Regions from separate parts of the Homo sapiens genome. Here regions 1 and 2 are each linked to region 3. Evidence: promoter capture Hi-C in human tissues and cell types (Jung and others, 2019). All regions are on one chromosome and are shown on one strand. The core of a region is centred on a gene start or on the middle of the fragment in contact, and the rest is flanking DNA. Distances in the headings are between cores, read along the strand shown. Region 1 overlaps RAPGEF1 (Rap guanine nucleotide exchange factor 1). Region 2 holds the start of UCK1 (uridine-cytidine kinase 1). Region 3 holds the start of DDX31 (DEAD-box helicase 31).

Evidence for each region. Contacts are between HindIII fragments. The study calls those that stand out against the background at their distance.
Region 1: a fragment that was not itself captured here is called in contact with the fragment with the promoter of DDX31 in region 3 in 1 of the 25 tissues and cell types used here (dorsolateral prefrontal cortex).
Region 2: a contact is called between the fragment with the promoter of UCK1 here and the fragment with the promoter of DDX31 in region 3, in 1 of the 25 tissues and cell types used here (dorsolateral prefrontal cortex).

The regions. Positions count from the first base shown.
Region 1 is chr9:131,609,615-131,612,735 of GRCh38, forward strand. All of the region lies in intron 12 of RAPGEF1 (Rap guanine nucleotide exchange factor 1), which reads right to left. Among named protein-coding and RNA genes, the nearest start is that of PRRT1B, 66 kb to the left of the region's middle. The HindIII fragment of the contact is 6,269 bases long and covers 1-3,121 here.
Region 2 is chr9:131,529,888-131,532,798 of GRCh38, forward strand. It overlaps UCK1 (uridine-cytidine kinase 1), which reads right to left and starts at 1,376. Exons shown (of 7, transcript NM_031432.5): 1 at 1,180-1,376; 2 at 599-758. The coding sequence starts at 1,287. RefSeq lists an enhancer at 533-1,446 and silencers at 862-911, 1,112-1,471, 1,612-1,781. The HindIII fragment of the contact is 11,870 bases long and covers 1-2,911 here.
Region 3 is chr9:132,668,305-132,671,346 of GRCh38, forward strand. It overlaps DDX31 (DEAD-box helicase 31), which reads right to left and starts at 1,679. Exons shown (of 20, transcript NM_022779.9): 1 at 1,556-1,679. The coding sequence starts at 1,630. It overlaps GTF3C4 (general transcription factor IIIC subunit 4), which reads left to right and starts at 2,160. Exons shown (of 5, transcript NM_012204.4): 1 at 2,160-2,651. The coding sequence starts at 2,295. RefSeq lists enhancers at 1,536-2,403, 2,089-2,168 and silencers at 1,749-1,898, 2,319-2,448. The HindIII fragment of the contact is 5,477 bases long and covers 1-3,042 here.

The DNA of each region.
Region 1 (3,121 bases), core at 259-2,758, 1.1 Mb before region 3:
ATCAGTAACCAGCTCCTTTGGAAACACACCCCTGAAAGCCACTGGGCCCCGGAGTCGAAACGATGCTGGAGGCTGATGACCTCATATGCGAGCGTGTGGCCAATTCATTAAAAGGCAAAGCTGCCTGAAGCTGGCCAGGCACCAGTTTTTTTTCTCACAAGTAAAATACTTAGAAAAGGCACTAGTTTTCGGTGACACCTTCTCTCTATTATAGTCCTGGCATGGAAAAAGGATTAGGGATGGGCTCTGTGTTGCCTTAGCAAGAAAGCAGGAAAGATCTTTTTCTTCCTTTCTTTTTTTGAGACAGGGTCTCGCTCTGTCACCCAGGTTGGAGTGCAGTGATGCGGTCTTGGCTCACTGTAGCCTCAACCTCCTGGGTTCAACTGATTCTCCTGCCTCAGCCTCTCAAATAGGGGGGAATATAGGCATGTGTCGCCAGGTACAACTGATTTTTTGGATTTTGTAGAGATAGCGTTTTGCTGTGTTGCTCAGGCTGGTCTTGAACTCCTGGGCTCAAGTGATCCTCCTACCTCAGCCTCCCAAAGTGCTGTGATTATAGGCGTGAGCCATCGTGCCCAGCAGGAAAGCAGATCTTTAAAGGAACAATTCTGAGTCCTCAATATAACAGCCACTCCACTTAATTCCTCTGCTGATCAGGAAGAGCGCGTGCCAGAGGAGGCTGTCTGCTCATCAGCGGCTGAGGGTTAGGGACACAGGCTGAGGAACCTTGATCAGAATGGTTGCTCCACAGTGACTTGAGCTCCAAGCCCTGGAGAATTGTCAGCTCCACCAGTTACAGCGAAATGTGGTCATGTAAATGAATGGATTCACTGGCATGGTGAAGTGTTTGGGAAGAGAAGTTGCCAGAAATTGGTCATTACTGCATAATCTTGGCTCAAGTAAGGCTTATGACTTCAGAGTTTTTGGATGCTACTTAGCAAAACAGATAAGCTATTGGACAGCTGGTTTTCGGGCTTAAATTTTTATCCCTCATTTGTGAGAAAACACATTCAGGGGAAGCTGCTTTTCTAGTGTGGTCTGGGCTTCCTTCCTCAGCGGAGAATCAATGGGAGCCACAGCTCAGCACTGGCGCTGGGCTCAGAGCACATATGTCCTTCAACTAGGGGACTGTGAGCCTCAAAGTGTGGGCCCTAATTTATCTATTCTGGAAGGAAATTGAGCTTTTCACTGATGATGACACCCACGTGATTGTCTGGGGAGAAAAGCTTATCTGATTTGATTCTTATAGAGATGGGGTATGACCACTCCCAGGACACCCTCCTGCCCCAGGAAAGGTGCTTGGTAACACTCCTTGTTACTCCATTTGGCAAACTATTAGGGATACCTCTGGCTTTGTCTTCTCTTTCCTTACGGTCCCAATTAACTACTGGTTTACACAGTAGGGTCTACCTTAGGCCCAGGGGCAACTCCTTTTCCTTGATGCCCTTGTGTTAATTTAAAACAATAACTATACCTTACATAATGTCAAAAGATGAGTTCCAAAGCCAAGTGGTAGGTTCTGAGGCCAATGCCACATGCACATGAACTGAGATCTGCCACTGACCGTTTTGTCTTTGATCCTGGTAAGAAGGCAGTCCTGTGGGCCACACTGTGTGAATGACAAGATGGCATTCTTCTCACCAAAGAAAGGCAACATTAGCATTATGTTGGGTCCAAAAAATATCTTCTCCCTTTTCAAATAAACTCCTTAGTGGAGCTTATTTTTAAAAACCACCTGAATATCCTAAGAAAAAAGGATGTAAAAGAACAAAAATGCGTTGCTTGGGAGAAGATGGGTGAATGCAAAAGTTCCTTATTAAGTTCCTTCTCATGTGATGTATTTTTGCAACTGGAATCACAATATCTCCACTGAAAATACTACGTTTTGGCCAATGGCTTCATGGCAAATTAACTCTTGCAAAACCTCCAATACATTCTAGGATGCTCTGTAATTCACTAAGTGTTGATCTGAATAACATCAACCCTTTATAGAAAGATTTAGTACAGACTGAAAAATGATTCAAATTCAGTTCTAGAAGTCTGACAACTATTTTTACTCAGTTTGCATTTCAACAGCCTGACAGGGGCTCTAATTTATACTTATTCTTAGAACTCTATTTAGAGCCTGTAGCTACACTTTGTAACATGTCAGAACATGAAGGAGAAATACACGCCTCTCAACGTCCAGCCTACACACTTTTCTTTTGACCCAGCCTTACGAGATCTCAAAATTTATTTGGCAATTAAGCAGTTCAAAAATGGGCAATTAAGCAGTTCAAAAATGTTAATCTAACGCTGTATTTTTCATGATAGGGTTCTGGATTCCAACCCTGGCTCTAGCTTAACTTGGAACAAATGGCTCAGCTTCTCTCTCCTGGCTTCTCCATCTCTAGAACTGCAGTGAACCATTTGATCACAGAATAGGAAGGAAGGCCCTCGATAGGGAAACAGTAGCCTGACGTGGAAGTAAAGGCGAGAGGCACTGGACGTGGAACTGGCCCTCAGGATGCGTGTCAGTGCACGACCTTTACAAGGAATGGGGATCCTGTGGGTACCAGCCTTCCAAGAAGGTTTGTGTCTATTTCCTATAACTTTATCTTAAAACTTCTCCTCTGTAATTTTCCCCACCACCCTGACTGAACTCCCACATGACAGTTTGCCTGTCATGGATGGAGTCAGAAGTACAACCACGGCCAGGTGCTACAGTGACACTACTGTGCCTGAAGCTGGTCAAGGGGCACCGATCAGCCAAAATGCCAGGCTGTAAACAATAAAGATTCTCAAAGTCTACAACCAGGGGTTGGAAACAGCTGCATCAGAGTGGTTGCTTTTGAAAGCCCCCAATGCGAGGCACTCTCAGCTCTGTTCCTGCTGTCAAGGCTGTGACCAGTCCTGCTGCTGAGATGGGCATACTCCCTACTGCCCACAGTAAGGCAAGGCAGGCTCGCTCCTGGGCTCAGGAGGTAACGCCGTCTCCTCCAGAGCTGGGCCTTTCTCTATAGGTGGCTCTACGTTATCCCGAGGGTCGCAGTGACCTGGAAGGGGCTCTGGTCTGCATGTACCTCCTTCCACAAGACCAGGTCAAGCTGAGTGGGATCTAATCCAGCCTTCACACTTCAGA
Region 2 (2,911 bases), core at 126-2,625, 1.1 Mb before region 3:
CCTCTGCTTCTCTCTCTTTCTGGGACTAACTGGTTAGACTGCGGCTTTGCAGGCCTTCTTCCCACAAGTCCTTGGGAAAAGGCTGACCATGCCAGCCAGCCAGGGTGGAATCTTCTAGCAGTGGCAGGTGTCTCCCTGCCGCATCTGCCCGTTTACCTGGCCCGGAGCTTCAAGCCACCAGCACTAGTTTACCTACCGCCTCCCACACTGGCCTCTCTGAGGACTTTGCCCCAAAGCACGGGAGGGCACAGTGGGCAGAGGTGTGTGTGGAGGGCCCTAAAGGCCCCAACGTGGGAAGGGAAGATGGGAGGATTTCTCCAGGATCACAGTTGTGGCAGGGCAGGGCAGGGCTCCCCACAGTGCAACAGGCTTCCTGACTGGCTCCAACCACGCTCCTGGGGGGACACTCAGGGCCCAGAGAACTCAGCAAAGTTCCCCTGACTTCACTGTGCAGCCAACTCCACTGCAGGCTGCGTGGCGAGTTGGGGGAACAGCCCAAGCGGGTCTGCATCCATCCAACCTTGGGCCCAAGCGCAGCTGGTTAGCGGCCGCCCAGAATGGGGTCTGCCCTCCCCACATCGTTGGGCTCGCGATTTACCTGGATGGTCAAAATTGTACTGTCCTTTCAAGGCCTTGGCCTTCTGCTCTGCCGTCAGGACCTTGTAGAACCTGTCCTGGCTCAGGATGACCACCTTCCGCTGCCGCTGTTCCACCTCGTTCTGTCCCAGCAACTCCATGATCTTCTCACACACGGTCGACTGGAGACACAGAAGCGGGATTCCCGCCTGGAACCGCTCGTCCTGTGACAGGCACGGGGCCGGCTTCTGGAGACACTGACCCACCCGCCCCCTGGGGGGTATGCTCGGAAGGCGGGAGGACACCAACAGGTGTGGATGGTCTCAGCGGAAGGGCCGCGGGGGCCCAACGGGGTTAGCACGGACTTGGGGCTCCGAGGAGCCCGGCCGGCGGAGAGGCTGTGGGGGAGCCCCGAGGCCCAGCGCCCCAACCCCTCGCCCGCCCCAGCCCGCCCCGGCCCATCGCGGCCTGCAGCCCCTTCGCTCCCGCGCCCTGCCCCTGCCTGGCAGGGGGCCCCTCGGCCGGGGCTGGGGTCTCCTCTCTGGACCGGGCCGCCCGTAGGCACCGGCGAGAGGCGAGACCCCGGCCCGCTCGGCCCCTTACCTTCCCGCTGGCAGTGCCGCCGCTCACCCCTATCAGGAAGGGCCGCTGGTGCGGACGGTCGGCCTCCGGCGCGGGGCTCTCGCAGTCTTCGCCTCCCGCCGAAGCCATCTCGGCCTCCGCTCCCGCGCATCGGGTCCCCGCGCCCGCCCCTTCCCCAGGCCCGGCGCGCCCGCCCAGCGCCGAGGTCGGAGGCAACCGGAGCGATCACTTCCGGGAGGCGCGCGGGGCACGCCGGGAGTTGTAGTCCACCGGGGGGGGGGGGGCCGCGCATGCGTGAGGGTGCAGGGCCCGAGGCCGGCACACCAGGAGCGCCCGCGTCCCATTGCGCCGAAAGCTGGCTGGCAGGGACTGCTGCGCCCGGGCCTCGAGCCGGCTACAAGGTCTCAGACTCAAGTGGCCCGGAAGGTGCCCGTTCCGCACCCCGAGGCTGGGGCTGCGCCTTCGTCCGAGTGCTTGCCTCTGCCTCGCGCTGCCTCTGCGCCAGTCCCGGGCCCTCCCCCGGCCGCCCCCGGGCCTGGCCCCCTCCAGCCCAGGCTCCTCTTGGCCATCGAGGCCTCCGGACTGTCCGGACGCCTCCCACCCCACCCGCTGCTGGAGCCGTCGGGGCGCCCCGGAACGTGGCGGGGGCTGTCGCCTGATGACTTTAGGCTCGCGCCTACAGCGCGCCAAGGAGGCAGAGGCCCATGTGCCGGGTTCCATCCCTGCCGCCCCCCCGCTCCGTGCCTGGCACAGAGAACGTGACAGGCAAATTCTGATCCATTGAAATTATGGATTTCCAGCCGGGCGCGGTGGCTCACGCCTGTAATCCCAACACTTTTGGAGGCTGAGGCGGGTAGATCACGAGGTCAGGAGATCGAGACCATCCTGGCGAACACGGTGAAACCCCGCCTCTACTAAAAATGCAACAAATCAGCTGGGCGTGGTGGCGGGCGCCTGTAATCCCAGCTACTTGGGAGGCTGAGGCAGGAGAATCGCTTGAACCCGGGAGGTGGAGGTTGCAGTGAGCCGAGATGGTGCCACTGCACTCCAGCCTGGGCCACAGAGCAAGACTCCGTCTCAAAAATAAAAAAGAGAGAGAGATAGCTAAGGCTCGGGGCAGAGCATGCTTTTCATATACAAAACAGACAACCCCGGGCGGACGCGGTGGCTCACACCTGTAATCCCAGCACTTTGGGAGGCCGAGGCGGGTGGATCACGAGGTCAGGAGATCGAGACCATCCTGGCTAACATGGTGAAACCCCGTCTCTACTAAAAATACAAAAAATTAGCCGGGCATGGTGGCGGGCGCCTGTGGTCCCAGCTACTCGGGAGGCTGAGGCAGGAGAATGGTGTGAACCCGGGAGGTGGAGCTTGCAGTGAGCCAAGATCACGCTACTGCACTCCGGCCTGGGGGAAAGAGTGAGACTCTGTCTCAAAAAAAAAAAAAAAAAAAAAAAAGACCCCAAGTCTACAGCCCCAGCTACCTCCTTATCTAATTCTCGCCTTTGGAGGCAAGATTCTCCCTGCCCTAAGTCACCCAGGGCCAGGTATCAGGTGACTAGAGACCACTCTGCAGCCCAGAGCCTGCTAGAATTACTCAAACTAGCCAATTTTAAACTCTTTCCCTGCCCTGCCAGGCCTTTTCCATGGAAACCCCAAGAAAGCCTCAGGCCTGGGCTCTCCCCTCGCCCCTGCTTCTGCCTCCTGACCAAACCTGGGGTTCTCTACTGAGAACCGTGCATGGCATGGGTGC
Region 3 (3,042 bases), core at 429-2,928:
GGATTATATCAATGAAACCGATTTTCCTATCCCCCTCCATTGCATGGGGATGAAAATCTGTCCCATTTTTGAAAGCTCTTCAAAAAAACTCCTAGTTGCCAGTCCTCATTCCTGAAACAAACGAACCTTCCTCATGGCGACCAAAAGAGTTAAACTCAAAAATATCTGAAGAGACTTATTCTGAGCCAAGTATGAGTGACCATGGCCCATGATCCAGCCCTCGAGAGGTCCTGAGAACATGTGCCCAAGGTGGTCGGGGTGCAGCTTTTTTTTTTTTTTTTGAGACGGAGTCTCGTTCTGTTGCCCAGGCTGGAGTGCAATGGCATGATCTCGGCTCACTGCAAGCTCCGCCTCCTGGGTTCACGCCATTCTCCTGCCTCAGCCTCCCGAGTAGCTGGGACTACAGGCGCCCACCACCACGCCCAGCTAATTTTTTGTATTTTTAGTAGAGACGGGGGTTTCATCTTGTTAGCCAGGATGGTCTCGATCTCCTGACCTCGTGATCCGCCTGCCTCGGCCTCCCAAAGTGCTGGGATTACAGGCGTGAGCCACCGCGCCCGGCCGCGGCTTGGTTTTATACATTCTAGAGAGGCATGAGACATCAAATACATTTCAGAAATACACTGGTTTTGTCCAGAAAGGTGGGACAACTCAAAGCGGGGGCTTCCAGGCTATAGGTAAATTTAAACATTTTCTAGTTGACGGTTGAGTTTGTCTAAACACCTGGGATGGATACAAAGAAAATGCTCAGGTTAAGATAAAAGATTGTGGAGACCAAGGTTCTTTTCAAGTCTTTAGTGGCTGCCCTTAGAGACAACAGACAAGTGTTTCCTATTCAGATCTTTGAAAGGTGGTAGACTCTTAATCTCTTTAGGATTGGGAGGGCCTGGAAGAAAAAGATCTAGCTATGTTAATAGAGATTCTTTGCAGATGCAAATGTCCACCCCGCCCGCCCCCCCCAAAGAACAGCTTTGCAAAGCCATTTCAAAATGTGGCAAAGAAACATGTTTAGGGGTAATATTTTAACTTTCTTCTTTGTCACATAATGTTAGGCCAGAGCCAGTTTGGAAAGTAAGTCACGATATATAGGGTTAAATGAAAGCCATCTGATGAGAATTTATGGTTTGTAGGGCATGACTCTTCCCAGACAGGAATGTGGGCAAGATAAAAAAAAAAATCAGAGCTTAGTCCGCACTCAGTCGAGGAAACTGGCTTAGAGAAGTTAAGCTTTGGCCTGGGACTTGCGCCGGAACTTCAGGTCCTACCTTCCACGGGAAACAGCCTCTAATTCCTTCCTTTACTTTTCTAGGCGCAGGAGCCAGCTCCCCGCCCCTCCACACCGCTCCACTCCCCGCTTCCAGGCGCATCCCTGCGGGTGGTGTTCCGGTTAGAGACACGTGTTTCGGCGCAACTTGTCCCGAAGCTGCCCGGTGTCTTTCTCCCGCTTAACTCCGTGAATGACTCGAAACCCGACTCCAAGGCACGGCTGCAGCTCGCGGCGCGCCCACAGCCGGGCCGCGGGTGGGGACGGAGCTGAAGCCGGGTCAGAACTCACCCGACTCGCCTGGGCTGGGGGACGTCTGGAGAACGTCCTGGGGTTGTCGAAGAGCGAACCGTCGGCGGCTGCCATGGTCTGCGTGGGTGACGCGTGGTGCAGCAGCGAGCCCGGTGCGCAGACTGCTGGGCCCGGGACCCCACGTGGGACGCGCGAGGACCCTGCGCCACCGCCCCTTCCGGGTCCGGAACGGCTCCAGCTGTACGGACTCGTCCCGAGGGGAGCCGGGGACGGCGGCACCGGGCGGGTAGGGACAAGACTACCGCGCGTGCCCCCGCCTGGTGGCAGCCCCTCTCTGCGTCCCTCGCGGCCTGGCAAAATTACATTCGGCCGAGAGTTCACGCTGGGGAAGCTCTCTGAATGCCTCTGAGAAGCGAGATCCGGCGCCATCTCACCGACGAGCCTCCCCTTTACCGCCCCGTGCGTTTCCTCAGCACTTTAGGAACTAAAGCCTGTCTGGGTAGCTCCCTAACAGGCTCTGGAGCTCAATCCCTGGGCAGGGAAAAGGGGGTCCTCGGGGCTCCCCGCTCGCTGTCCTTTTTCTGGACAGGCAGTTCCTTGGCCACCTGGTAGGGCCGCGTTGCCTGGCAACGGCGGGGTCCTTCTTGGCTCGGCGGCGCTCGGGGCCTGAGGGGAGAAAACCGCCGCGGAGGGCGCTGGGGGTGGCGGCGGCGGTCCGGGAGGTGGTCGCGCGACTGCGTGGAGCGCCAGGGCGTCCGACCTCTGCACCTGAGAGAAGATGAACACGGCCGACCAGGCCCGGGTGGGGCCCGCGGACGACGGGCCTGCGCCGTCTGGGGAGGAGGAGGGAGAGGGGGGCGGCGAGGCGGGCGGGAAGGAGCCAGCAGCGGACGCGGCCCCGGGGCCCAGCGCTGCATTCCGCCTCATGGTGACTCGGCGGGAGCCGGCCGTGAAGCTGCAGTATGCGGTGAGCGGCCTGGAACCGCTGGCTTGGTCCGAGGACCACCGCGTGTCTGTGTCCACGGCCCGCAGCATCGCTGTGCTGGAGCTCATCTGCGACGTGCACAACCCGGGCCAGGACCTGGTTATCCACCGCACCTCGGTGCCCGCACCGCTCAACAGCTGTCTCCTCAAAGTAAGTCATCCCCCGCCATCCCTGGGGTCTTCCCCTGTCCCCCTCTCGCGGCCGCATCATCCGTCCCAGGGGAATCCGATCCCACACTCTGTCCGGGGATTTCCCTCTTCGCACCGAGCGCTGGGGATTTATTAAGCAGCCAGGGTTACCACAGCTTAAAAAAAAAAAAAGAAAAGCTCTGCAGCTGTCTGCACCCTGTTTCCCCAGGTCACCCGCCGCCGCAAACACAGGTACACACCCAGGGGGCTTCCCGGAGTTGAGTCCCAGGAACCCCTCCTTCGCCCCTCCGTCGGGCCCGCACATGGAGCGGGTTACTCGATGGTGCTTTCTGAGACTCCACCCCCTGTAGATCCAACCCGGGGCCTGCCTCTGTCGTTGCTGCTATTGTTTG